Regions from separate parts of the Homo sapiens genome. Here all the other regions are linked to region 3. Evidence: promoter capture Hi-C in 16 types of primary human blood cells and fetal thymus (Javierre and others, 2016). All regions are on one chromosome and are shown on one strand. The core of a region is centred on a gene start or on the middle of the fragment in contact, and the rest is flanking DNA. Distances in the headings are between cores, read along the strand shown.

The links. The method cuts DNA at HindIII sites, captures the fragments that hold promoters and counts their contacts. A CHiCAGO score of 5 or more calls a contact.
Region 1: a contact is called between a fragment that was not itself captured here and the fragment with the promoter of PIGZ in region 3, in 1 of 17 cell types (erythroblasts). The highest score is 5.4, in erythroblasts.
Region 2: a contact is called between a fragment that was not itself captured here and the fragment with the promoter of PIGZ in region 3, in 1 of 17 cell types (M2 macrophages). The highest score is 5.2, in M2 macrophages.

The regions. Positions count from the first base shown.
Region 1 is chr3:196,529,976-196,533,996 of GRCh38, forward strand. No RefSeq gene overlaps it. Among named protein-coding and RNA genes, the nearest start is that of SMCO1, 17 kb to the left of the region's middle. RefSeq lists an enhancer at 3,158-3,771. The HindIII fragment of the contact is 3,429 bases long and covers 971-4,021 here.
Region 2 is chr3:196,588,411-196,592,406 of GRCh38, forward strand. FBXO45 (F-box protein 45) reads left to right here. Exons shown (of 3, transcript NM_001105573.2): 3 at 1-649. Among named protein-coding and RNA genes, the nearest start is that of FBXO45, 22 kb to the left of the region's middle. The HindIII fragment of the contact is 528 bases long and covers 2,386-2,913 here.
Region 3 is chr3:196,966,957-196,970,872 of GRCh38, forward strand. PIGZ (phosphatidylinositol glycan anchor biosynthesis class Z (Gwada blood group)) reads right to left here and starts at 1,877. Exons shown (of 3, transcript NM_025163.4): 1 at 1,731-1,877. It overlaps LOC124906255 (collagen alpha-1(I) chain-like), which reads left to right and starts at 2,177. Exons shown (of 3, transcript XM_047449439.1): 1 at 2,177-2,293; 2 at 2,440-3,256; 3 at 3,345-3,916. The coding sequence starts at 2,177. The coding sequence ends at 3,255. RefSeq lists enhancers at 1,454-1,989, 1,990-2,525, 2,526-3,061 and silencers at 1,597-2,046, 2,107-2,316, 2,327-2,386, 2,497-2,556, 2,667-2,986 and 1 more. The HindIII fragment of the contact is 27,924 bases long and covers 1-3,916 here.

The DNA.
Region 1 (4,021 bases), core at 1,435-3,934, 440 kb before region 3:
TGGTGATTTCTGAGATTTGGTGCAGCCATCACTCGAGCAGTGTACACGGTACCCAACGTGTGGTCTTTTATCCCTCGCCCCCTTCCCACCCTTTCCCCTGAATACCCAAAGTGCATTGTATCTTTTTTTTTTTTTTTTTTTTTGTGAGATGTAGTCTCTCTGTGTCGCCCAGGCTGGAGTGCAATGGCACGATCTCGGCTCACTGCAACCTCTGCCTCCCGGGTTCAAGTGATTCTCCTGCCTTAGCCTCCTGAATAGCTGGGACTACAGGCACATGCCACCAAGCCCAGCTAATTTTTGTATTTCTAGTAGAGACGGGGTTTCACCATGTTGGGCAGGATGGTCTCGATCTCTTGACCTCATGATTCGCCTGCCTCGGCCTCCCAAAGTGCTGGGATTACAGGCTTGAGCCACCGCACCCGGTCCACTCCGTGGCTTTCTTTTCATCATCTTGATGGTGTGTTTTCATGAACTAATGTTCTTAATTTTCAAGTAGTCCAATTTATCATGTTTTCATTTTGATGTCTTATATATGAAATTTTTCCTACCCCAAGGTCATGAAAATATTTTTTTCCTTTTAGAAGCTTCACCACTTTACCTATTACATTTATATCTGTAATATGCCTAAAATTTAGACCTTTGGATTAATGTGAAGAAGGTCAAGATTCTTTTCTTCTCCATATGGATATACAACTGACTCAATCCCATTTATTATAAAGAGTTTCCTCACTGCTCTGCAGTGGACTTTTGTCATTAATCAAGTTTGCATACATGCAAGCATCTATTTCTATCCTCTATTCTGTTCCATTGGTCTGCTTATTTATTCTTGTGCCCAAATCACACTCAACCTTAATTATTTTGGCTTCATTAAAAAGTCTTAATAACATACAGTGTGAGTCCTCCAGCTATGCTCTTCAAGATTATCTGGGGTATTCTGGGCCATTTGCATTTTCATATAAAATTTTCAATAAGCTTGCTAATTTTTAGAACGCTATGAGCTGGGATATTGAGTAGAATTACATTGACATCTTCATAATATTTAGCCTTCTAATTCATGAATATGATACGTATCTTTATTTAGATTCTCTTTAATTTTCCTCGGTCGTGTTTTGTAGTTTCCTTTGTAGAGTTTTTGCATGTTTTCCATTAGATTTATTACTAGGTATTTGATGTTTCTTGATGCTGTTGTAAGTAGTGTTTAATGTTTTTCTTATTGCTGTTATAAATACGACCAATTTTTCTATATTTACCTTTTTATTCAGCAACCTTACTAAACCCATTTTTCACTTAGTCGTTCATCTGTAGATGCCCGCCCGCCCGCCTGCCTGCCTGCCCGCCCACCCGCCCGCCTGCCCGCCCGCCTGCCCGCCTGCCCGCCTGCCCGCCTTTCTTTTCTTTCGTCTTGCTCTGTCACCCAGGCTGGAGTGCAGTGGCGTGATCTCAGCTCACTGCAACCTCCACCTCCTGGGTTCAAGTGGCTCTCCTGCCTCAGCCTCCTGAGTAGCTGGTACTACCGGCACATGCCACCACACCTGACTAATTTTTGTATTTTTAGTAGAGACAGGGTTGCACCATGTTGGCCAGGCTTGTCTCAAACTCCTGACCTCAGGTGATCCACCCACCTTTTCCTCCCAAAGTGCTGGAATTACAGGCGTGAGTCACCGCATCCGTCCTTGTTCTGCAAACACAATCATGTTGTCTGTGAATGACAGTTTTAGTTCTTCCTTTCCAATTCTTATGTCTTTCATTTCTTTTTCTTGTCTTGTTGTAATGTCTACACCTTCAACAGAATGTTGAATAGAATTAATCAAGGGAATTTCATTCTATTCTCAAACTCCTGACCTCAGGCCATCTGCCTGCCTCAGCCTCCCAAAGTGCTGGGATTATAGGCTTCATTCTATTCTCTTGTTACCAACATCATGAAGAAAGTTTCAGTGTTTTACCATGTTTCTAAATTATTCATGTCTCAAAGAAGAAAATACAATGAAAATTTTAAATGTTTCATTGAAAAACAATGAAAATGTGACATAAGACAATAAGGAGGTAGCTAAAACTGTACTTTGAAGAAATTTTGTCTCAAATGCAAAATAAAAGCTGGACATATCCGTGAGATAAGTGTTCATCTCAAGGTGTTAGAAAAAGAGCAAATTAAACCTAAAGTTATTAGAATGAAGGAAATAATAAAGATTAGAGCAGGAATTCATGAAATAGAAAGAAATAAATAATAGAAAGGATTATCAAAGGCAAATATTAGTTCTTTGACCCTTGTGCACTATTGATGGGAATGTAAATTATTACGGCCATTATGAAAAACAGTATGGAGGTTTCTGAAAAAATTAAAAATAGGACTACCATATGATCCAGCAATGATATATACTAGGTGCATATCTGGAGGAAATGAACTCAGTGTGTTGAAGGGACACCTACACTCCCACATTAATTGCAGCGTTATTCATAATAGCCAAGATATGGAATCAACTTAAGGAGCCATCAACAATGTGGTATGCTAGGCATGGTGGCTCATGCCTATAATCCCAGCATTTTGGAAGGCTGAGGCAAGAGGATCACTTGTGCCCAGGAGTTTGAAACCAGGCTAGGCAACATAGTGAGACCTCATCTCTACAAAACAAAAAAAAAATTAATTTGAAAAACAATATGCTGAAAAAATGTGCTACATGCTCATCATGGATGACATTAAAAATAAGTAAATAAGCAATATGGTGTATATACACAATGGAATACTATTCAGCCTTTAAAAAGAAGGAAATTCTGTCATTTGCAACAAGATGTAAGATCCTGGACGACATTATGCTATGAGAAATAAGTCAGGCATAGGAAGACAAGTACTGCATGATCTCACTTATATGAGGAATTGAAAAAAGTGAAACTTCTAGAAGCAGGGACAGAGAGTAGAATGTTGGTTGCCAGGGTTGGTTAGGAGGCTGGGGAGATGGGAGATGTTGGCCAAAGGGTACAAACTTTCAATATAACGTGAATAAGTTCTGGAGATCTAATACACAGCACAGTGATTATAGTTAATAATACTGTATTGTATACTTGAAATTTGCTAAGAGAATAGTTCTTAAGTGTGTTCATTATTGGGGGAACCAGCCCCCAATATTTCAACGTAGGTTCTTTTCTATTTTCCCTAAGTGTCAGCTGGTCTGAGAAAAAAAGAGAAAGAGTACAAGAGAGAGAAATTTTACAGCTGGGCCTCCGGGGGTGACATCACGTGTCGGCAGGTTCTGTGATACCCACCTGAGCCGCAAAACCAGCAGGTTTTTATTAGGAATTTCAAAAGGGGAGGGGGTATGAATAGGGAGTGGGTCACAGAGATCACACGCTTCATTCAAATGGCAATAAAAGATCACAAGGGCATAAGGGCAGAGCAAGCTCACAAGGCCAGGGCGAAATTAGAATTACTGATGAGGTTTCACGTCCCACTGTGCACGCGTTGTCATTGATAAATATCTTAACAGGAAACAGGGTTCAAGAGCAGAGAACTGGTCTGACTACAATTCGCCAGGCTGGAATTTCCTAATCCTAGCAAGCCTGGGGGCGCCGCAGGAGAGCAGGGCGTTATTTCATCCCTTATCTTCAACCGCATGAGGCAGACAGCCCCAGAGCGGCCGTCCATGCCCCCCACCGGGAATGCGTTCCCTTCCCAGGGTGATTCCTTGCTGGGAAAAGAATGCAGCCATATTTCTCCTACTCGTTTTCTGCAATAAGAAAGATATGACGCTGTTCTGCCCGGCCCCGCAGGCAGTCAGACCTTATGGTTATCTCCCTTGTTCCCTGAACATCGCTGTTATCCTGTTCTTTTTCAGGGTGCCCAGATTTCATATTGTTCAAACACACGTTTTACAAACAATTTGTGCAGTTAACGCAATCATCACAGGGTCCTGAGGTGACATACATCCTCAGTTTACGAAGATGACGGGATTAAGAGATTAAAGTACAAACAGGCACAGGAAATTATGAGTCTTGACTGGGGAAGTGATACATGTCCATGAAATCTTCA
Region 2 (3,996 bases), core at 1,400-3,899, 380 kb before region 3:
ATTGAGACCACCACAGTTCCACAATTGGGACTGTGGTAGATAATCAGGACCACTTGGAAGCCTTTATTAGGAACAGCCCACACCCAGCCCAAATGCTGTCCTCAAAAACATTCCTCAGTTTCTCTAGCTGAATGTAATCTCTCCTTGAAATTTCCCTAGTTTTATATATCTATAGTTGACTCATGCTGTATTTATTTATACCTTGTTTAAAATTATTTATTGATTATTTATTGGTGTCATATCGCCCCTAAACTGGGACAGGATCTCTAACGGACTCATCTTTGTGCCACAACATGTAAGCCCAATAGGCAGGTGCTCACATATTTGCTGAAGGAACAGAGAAAGAACTGCGGAGAAAGACAAAAGCTCCTCTGAAGTTTTAGACTATAGAAGCAAAAATTATAGTAGCAAAAGATGAATGAGAAATTCTGTTCTAGTCCCAGTGAAGCAGGAAGGAAAGGGTTGCAAACTTGAGGCTGGTAAGGAAGAAATAATTACTGTGAATGCATTTAGCCACTCCCCTCTACTCAAAAATACTGGTAAACTCTGATTTTTATATTTGTTTAGAATTTAAATTAGAATTCTGTATCTTTATTTTTTGGAATTCTGTTGTTTTGCCTTAGTTTCTTAATAAAAAGTTAAACATTAACCACCTGTGATTGCTTACATTTAAAGACATTTTTTACACATTGGTTAGAAAGAAAAATTGGGGTGCCTTAATAGCCAGAGGTGGTGATGGAATTTACCTATAAATTCCATGGCTTTAATAATAGAATCCACATTCCCCATGTTTAGAATGGAAAGTGGACAGAGAACAGTAATTCACTAGGGTCTTATTTCCCAATTGCCTCTACCGCCCCCCACCCCACCCTCCTGCTGACATTTGTTTGATAATGCAGTTGTTTGCCAAGAATTATGAGAGACAGGCATGCTATTCCTGAACTGGCTGAATACACGGCTCCTGTGATCCAAAAGCTTAAAAGAGAATCAGTTGATGATGTTGCTAAACAAGTTGGCTGATATGTTAAAGTTCAAAGCATTTTAATTTTTTTTTTTTTTTTTTTTTTTTTTTTTTTTTTTTTTTTTTTTTTGAGACAAAGTCTTGCTCTGTCACCCAGGCTGGAGAGCAGTTGATGTGCTCTCGGCTCATTGCAACCCCTGCCTCAGGTGATCCGTGTGCCTCGGCCTCCCAAAGTGCTGGGATTACAGGCATGAGCCACCGTGCCCAGCCCAAAGCATTTAAATTTTATAAAAGAAAAATAGGTGTAAATGTTCTGTATTTGCCGCTTTGTTTAGTGGAAAGAGACGCCAGAGACAGCTTTACCAGTCTGTTGTCCTGATTTCTTTTTTGGATCCTCCCTCGAACTGTTTGCTTCTTATTTAATGTGTTCACTAAAATACTGTTGAGAGCAACATGTTCTCTAGTCTTCAGAATAATAGTTTGCTGAAAGAAGTAGCCCTTTAAGATTTAAGATTGTTATTCAGCTTTTGTATGTAGGATTTCATGATGAGTGGCTCAAGAAGTAGGAATCATTTGGGGAGTTTCCTTAGGTCACCCTGTTGATAGTGTTTAATTTCTGTTTAAGGCAGGAAAACATTAAGAAAAGATTAGAGAAGTCAAGTCCTGTCTATGATATGATATGATACTTGTACACCATGTTATATTTCTGCCCCCTTTCCTGTATAAATAAAATGGGGATAAAATCAAGTAATGGTTTTGAGGTCATAGCTCCCTTAAGAAAGTCTCCCTGAAATAATGTATTAAAATTCTAGCGTCTCAAGTTAGATTCATTAGAGGCATATTGTAGTGGGAACAGACCAGATATCTTTGTTTATTTTAATATAGCTAACTTGTTCATATTCCCAACCCATGTTTAAAGAGCATATGATTGATCTGTGCCCCCTTGTTGGTCATCTTCACCTTGGAAGGAAAGGAGGCTTAAGGTTGCAATGAGAGTTGTTGATGACATCTCTAACCCCTCAGTAGGCCAAAGAGTGATGTAGTTCATGATCCAATTGCCCAGAATAGCACGGACAGATGGTTACTTTGCTAAAAGACATGTTGGTAGCAAAGACACTGCTCTGAGCAGAGACTGGTGGCAAAGCCCAGCGCAATCCACCCTTCTGAGCACAGCCTACAGGAACTTCAGTGCCGACGGAGTCACGGAGGCCACTCTAGGTTTTACATGGCCATAGTTGAGCTTCTGAAATTTTGAAGGATCTCCCTGCCCACCCAGCTACTAGTCATCCACTTGGTAATGTAGACAGAATGAAAAAGGCAGGAAAGATCATTCATCAAATTATTTTCTAACATCCGTTATCTAGCAGGCTTTTACCAGGTACTAGAGATGGAAAGATGAGAAGGAAAAATCGAAGTTGCTGACAAGCTTCTGTGAAAGCAAATGTGGAAACAGACTACTGTGAAACTGAGGTAACTGCTTTAACGAAATTACAGGTGAGGTCCAGGGTGGCATAGGAGAGGGAATAGTTAACCTGGGGCGATGTTTAAGCTGAGCTTAGAAGATAGTAGGTGGGAGCTAATGAGGATAAATCCACTGTTCCAGGCAAGTGGGATAGGACGTGCTATGATACGGAGGCACAGATAGGTCCGCTATGTCTGGAACCATGCTGGACAAGTGGTGGGGGAGGGCATGGAACAGGGAAATTGCGTCTGGATTATAATTGCCATACCAAATAGTTTGGGTTTTGTCTATTTTTTCATGGGGGAAGCCATTCAAAAGTTTTCAGCAGGGGCATGATTAGCTACAAAAACCAATATCTGAAAGGTGGGAGTCAGGAGGTCTAGGCAGAAAATGATGAGGACCTAAACTAAGGTGACTAAAGATGGAGGAGGGATGTATTTAAGAGAATGCAGGAACACATGTGGACACCATTTGTATGTCAAGAGTGAGAAGCTTTTTGGTGCAGACATTTATAAGGTACTGCTTATTAAGAAAGGGTATTGAAAAGGAGGAATAGATTGGGAGGTGAGGGGCCGAGCGCAGTGGCTCACATCTGTCATCCCAGCACTTTGGGAGGCTGAGGTGGGCAGATCACCTGAGGCCAGGAGTTCGAGACCAGCCTGGCCAACGTGGTGAAACCCCGCCTCTACTAAAAATACAAAAATTAGTCGGTTGTGGTGGCAGGTGCCTGTAATCCCAGCTACTCGGGAGGCTGAGGCAGGAGAATGGCGGGAACCCAGGAGGCGGAGCTTGCAGTGAGCCGAGATCGCGCCATTGCACTCCAGCCTGGGTGACAGAGCGAGACTCTGTCTCAAAAAAAAAGATTGGGGGGTGAGGGTAACGAGTGCGGTTTTGAACATGTTAAATCGGAGGTGGAAATACAGAAAAGGCAGTTGGAACTAGTGAGCCTGGAGTTAAGGAGATCGGCAGCCAGCTGGATGAGAGAGCTGCTGGTGTGCCGCGTTCCTCACTGGCCGTACGGGCTCCACAGCCCAGCGGGTAGAGCGAGGGAGGCGGGCCTGCAATACCCCCAAAGGACAACCAACTGCCTTCTAAACCGTGACTCTGCCAACTAAAGGCTGCGGGGGTGTTTTGTTGTTTCGGGATTTTTCTTTTCCTTACATACCCCACACCTCTGAATAACAATCCTAGCAGTTCAATTTTTTTTTTTTTTCTTGGAGACAGAGTCTCGCTCTGTCGCCCAGGCTGGAGTGCGGTGGTGTGATCTCGGCTCACTGCAACCTCCGCCTCCCGGGTTCCAGCCATTCTCCTGCCTCAGCCTCCCGAGTAGCTGGGATTACAGGCGCCCGCCACCACGCCCGGCTAATTTTTGTATTTTTAGGAGAGATGGAGTTTCACCGTGTTAGCCAGGATGGTCTTGATCTCTTGACCTCGTGATCTGCCCGCCTCGGCCTCCCAAAGTGCTGGGATTACAGGCGTGAGCCACCGCGCCCAGCCTCAGTTCAAAATTTTTAGGTGCCTCTTTTTAATTTTGGGAGAAGCTCAGCAATGTTCTATCATTTTGGTCTTGAGG
Region 3 (3,916 bases), core at 627-3,126:
GGAGATTGGACTGGGGGGCAGGGGAGCAGGCATTGACAACCACGCCGACAGGGGCATCCCGCGCGCCTGTGTGGGAGAATGTGTAGGGCAAGCAGCAGGGAGAGACCATCTCAGAGACAGGGGAACAGCCAAGCAGAAACCACTGTGCTGGGCGCGGGGGGAGGCCGGGAAAGACAGCACATCTGCGGGGCGGGAGGAGGGGAGGGAAGGGAGTAGAAACACTGCTCCCGCCAGCCGCGGGTGATGGGGACACGTGTCCAGCTCGCTGAGTCCGAGGGCCTGGGCCCGCTTTGGGTGCCCTGTTTCTCCGGCGCCCAGGTGTGTGCGCAGAACCGTGTCTGCTCCAGGGACAGCCGTGAACGAGCGCCGTCCGGAGTGGCAGGGCCATCAGGTGTGGCTCATTCCAAGAAAGGTCCGTACCTTCACATGTAAACTTCCTGGCAAAGCTGCTGGGTTGCCGCTTATGGGAGAAGGCGGCGGGCCCAAGGTTCGGCCCCTTTGTCTGAATCTGGCATTTGGAGCAGGCTTTAAGACTTCGGGAAAAGCCGGGCCCCTGTGCAACCACCAAAGGCTGCTTCTCCCGCCCTCAGGACTAAGATCTTGTTCCAGTCCTCCAGTCCTCGGGGTCTACTCCAGGGGTACAAGGTGAGAGTGGCTCTCCAGAGTCCATTTGCCTTTTGGTGCCGCACTGCATCCTCACTTTGACCCTGAGCGCTGCAGTAAGCCCTGCAGGGTGCTCCACCTTGAAGCACGGGAAGATCTGATGCTGGCCGCCTTCTTCCTTCGGTTGCCTGAAAGGGCCCGTGTTTATCCTTCGCTTCACAGAGAACGCAACACACAACATTAAACACACATAGAGAGTGAAAGAGAACAAGGCATCTTCATCAAGGAGGGCGCACCATTTAACCACCCGCGACCTTGCAGTGCGCCTCTGCAAAGTGGGGACTCCGCTCTGTAGCAGGAGATGGGGGTGTTGACGATTTTGAAAGTAGTTCTCAGTTTTCCGAGGCAAAGGTGTCTGGGGCTGACGAATGACTTTTGAGAAGAAGGAATGATGAGAAATGTCCTCATTACAGAACTTTCCCGGCCACACTGTGAGTCCCACGCAAAGACCCCATGACCACCAACCGGAGCGCTGGGTGCTCCCTGGCAGGGTCACCTTTGCTTTTTGCGCGCCCCCATGCCACCCCTGGGGCAGGAGGCCATCCTCTTATCCTGGGAGTGCAGGCCTGGCCCGAAGTGCAGCCCCCGAGGCCGGGAGCCGAGATTCTTCTCGGCTTCGTGCTCAGAGCTTTGCAGCGTGGCATGGTTTCCTCCTCTTGCCCTGTTGCTGTTTCATACCAGGGGGAACTGAGACCCAGTCGGGTTATGGGCCTCCCTGAGAACACTGGCCTCTAGCAGAAGCAGATTCAACCCCAGGCCTCAACCTGCGCCCAGACCCGTGCCCTGGAGTGGAGTTTACCCACTGCCGCCCTTCCTGGGCAAATGTCACCGCTGCCTCCGTCCCCCTAGGTCCGGGGCGGGTCAGTGCTTCGAGCCAGCGGACCCCGGCCTAGGGACAGGTGCCTGCGAGAATGCGGGGGGCGGCCCCCAGCTCCCCTGCCCTCCTCCCTAGAGGCTGGGCCTGCTGGTCTCCCGGCTGCGCGCAAGGTGGGAACGCGGCCGACTTGGTCCGCTCGCCCTCCCCGCACCCGCTCCTCTGGAGCCGCTGGGGCTGCGCACCGACTCACCCGCGCGGCCTCCGGGCTGCGCCTTCAGCGCTGGCGGCGTCCTGCCCGGCGAGGGCCAGGGTCCCAGGAGGCCCCGGAGGCGGCGGGACCGCAGGGCGGAGGGGAGGCCGTGGGAGCGGCCGGGCGCGCCTCAGCAGCGCGGAGACTGGGGCCGCCGCCGCCGGCGCAGGGCGGGCCGGGAGGGAGGAGGAGCGCGCGGGCGGGGCCGCCGTGTACGTCCCCGCGCTCCCGCCCGGCCTGGCCCCGCGGTCCCGGAGCGAGCTGGGGCCGCGCTGGGGAGGGTCCTGGGGGCGCCGCCGTCCCTCGGGCCGGGCAACGCCGGGCGGGGACCGGTCTCGCCCCGCCGCGCTCGGGCTCCCTCCCCGGCGGCCCCTCCTCGGCGAACAGCCTTTCGGCGCGGGGGGCTGTTAAACCAGACACCCCAGGCCACACTCCTCTCGTTCGAAATGACCATTTCGGGGTTCTCCGTGGCGGGGAGCTCCGCCGCCGCCGTCCCCCTTCCACGCGCGGGAGGTCGGCGAGGGCAGGGCGGGGACCCGGAGTGCGGCCCCCGGTCCTGCTTCGTGGCCCGAAACGCCTCGCAATGGAGTCACTCATGACAGGGGACTCAGCGCACGGGGCGGCTGCTGAGCCCCGCAGCGATCGGCGGGCGTGAGGGGTTCCCCGGCGTGGTTGCCCGGGAGCCTGTCAGCCCCAGCAGCCCTGACAGGAAAGGGAAGTCGAGAGGAGGCTGAGCGAACGGCCGCCACCCCCGCGGGACGCTGACCCGGGCGGACCCCGAGGGGCCTCTCCCCGCGCCAGAGCGCGGCGTGCGCGGGGAAGCGCGACCCACCGGGGTCGGCGACGGCGCGCGGGGCGGGCGCGGCGGTTCCCTCTCCTCCGCCCGTGCCCGTGGGATCGGCGGGCTTGTCGGGCTGGGAGAGCCTCGTGGAACCCGGGCATCCGGGCAGCAGCGGCCTCCGAGCCACTGTGGAGGCGCCCGGGGTCGGCACGGCGAGGCCGACGGGGACCTGACACGGTCACGCGGCGCCGGGGAGCAGGTTCGAGTGGCCGGGCGTGGCCGTGCTGCCCCTCCGCGTTCCGCAGGCGGCGACGGGCGAGCGGCCCTAGCGGGCTGCAGGGAGGACGCCGCGTGGACGGAGAGCCGGCGCCCGGGGGCCAGATCCCCTCCCGGGACGGGGCGCCAGGTCCCCGCGAGCTGCGGCGCGACGCGCGGGCACCCGTGTCCCACCCGGTGGCCTCGCCGCTGCGGGCTGCGCTGAGAGCGGGGTGGCGCGACGCGGTCCCTCACCGCAGGGGGAAGACGGCACCACCGCGTCCCGGCCGCTGGAGCTTCCCGCCCGCGCCGCCGGCCCGACGCTGCCCCCTGGCGGGAGAGCGCTGCAGGGGCCCCGGCGAGGCCGCAGGACCCGACCTCCCCGCCGGCCTCGCACTCCCGCGCCGCCGCCGAGGGTCGGCAGCCGGATCGCCCTCCGTGCCCCATAGCACCCCTCACACTAAAAACGACGACTTTATTAAGATGTGAGGTATTCTATACATACGATAAATACCAGGAAATTTAAGTACAGTACATGGAAGTATACAGTTCCATGAATTTTTTCCTTTATTTTTTAGATACAGGGTCTCTGTCGCCCAGGCTGGAGTGCGGTGGCACGATCTCGGCTCACCGCAGCCTTGAACTTCTAGGCTCCAGCGATCCTCCTGCCTCAGCCTCCCGAGCAGCTGGGACCACAGGCCCCGCCACCATGCCCGGCTCAGTTCCATGACTTCTGACACGCGAAACCACCAGGCTAGTCTCCCCCCGAGTTCAAGAAGTCCTCTCCTCCCAAAAGTACCCTCCTGCCCCTCTGCAGCTAACCCCTCACCTCCCCTCCGCCCTGGTTCCAGACAACTGCTCCTCTGATTTCTGTCACTGCCCTTTGCCTCTCTCGCAATTGCATGCAAGGAGAACCATTCACCGTGTGGTCTTTTGTGCCTGGCTTTCTTCGCTTGGCACCATGCAGCTGAGCGTCGCCCGTGTGGCGTGTGTGTGTTGTATTTTCCTCTACCTTGGTCTTGAGACCTCCCTGGAGAGCCACTGTAAAGGCCAACTCTGCCCTGACAGGGCTCCTGGGATTTGGGCGTGGGTGTTTGCCGTGGGCCTTTCATGGGGCACCTCTGTATCCTGGCTGACCTGTGACCGGGTG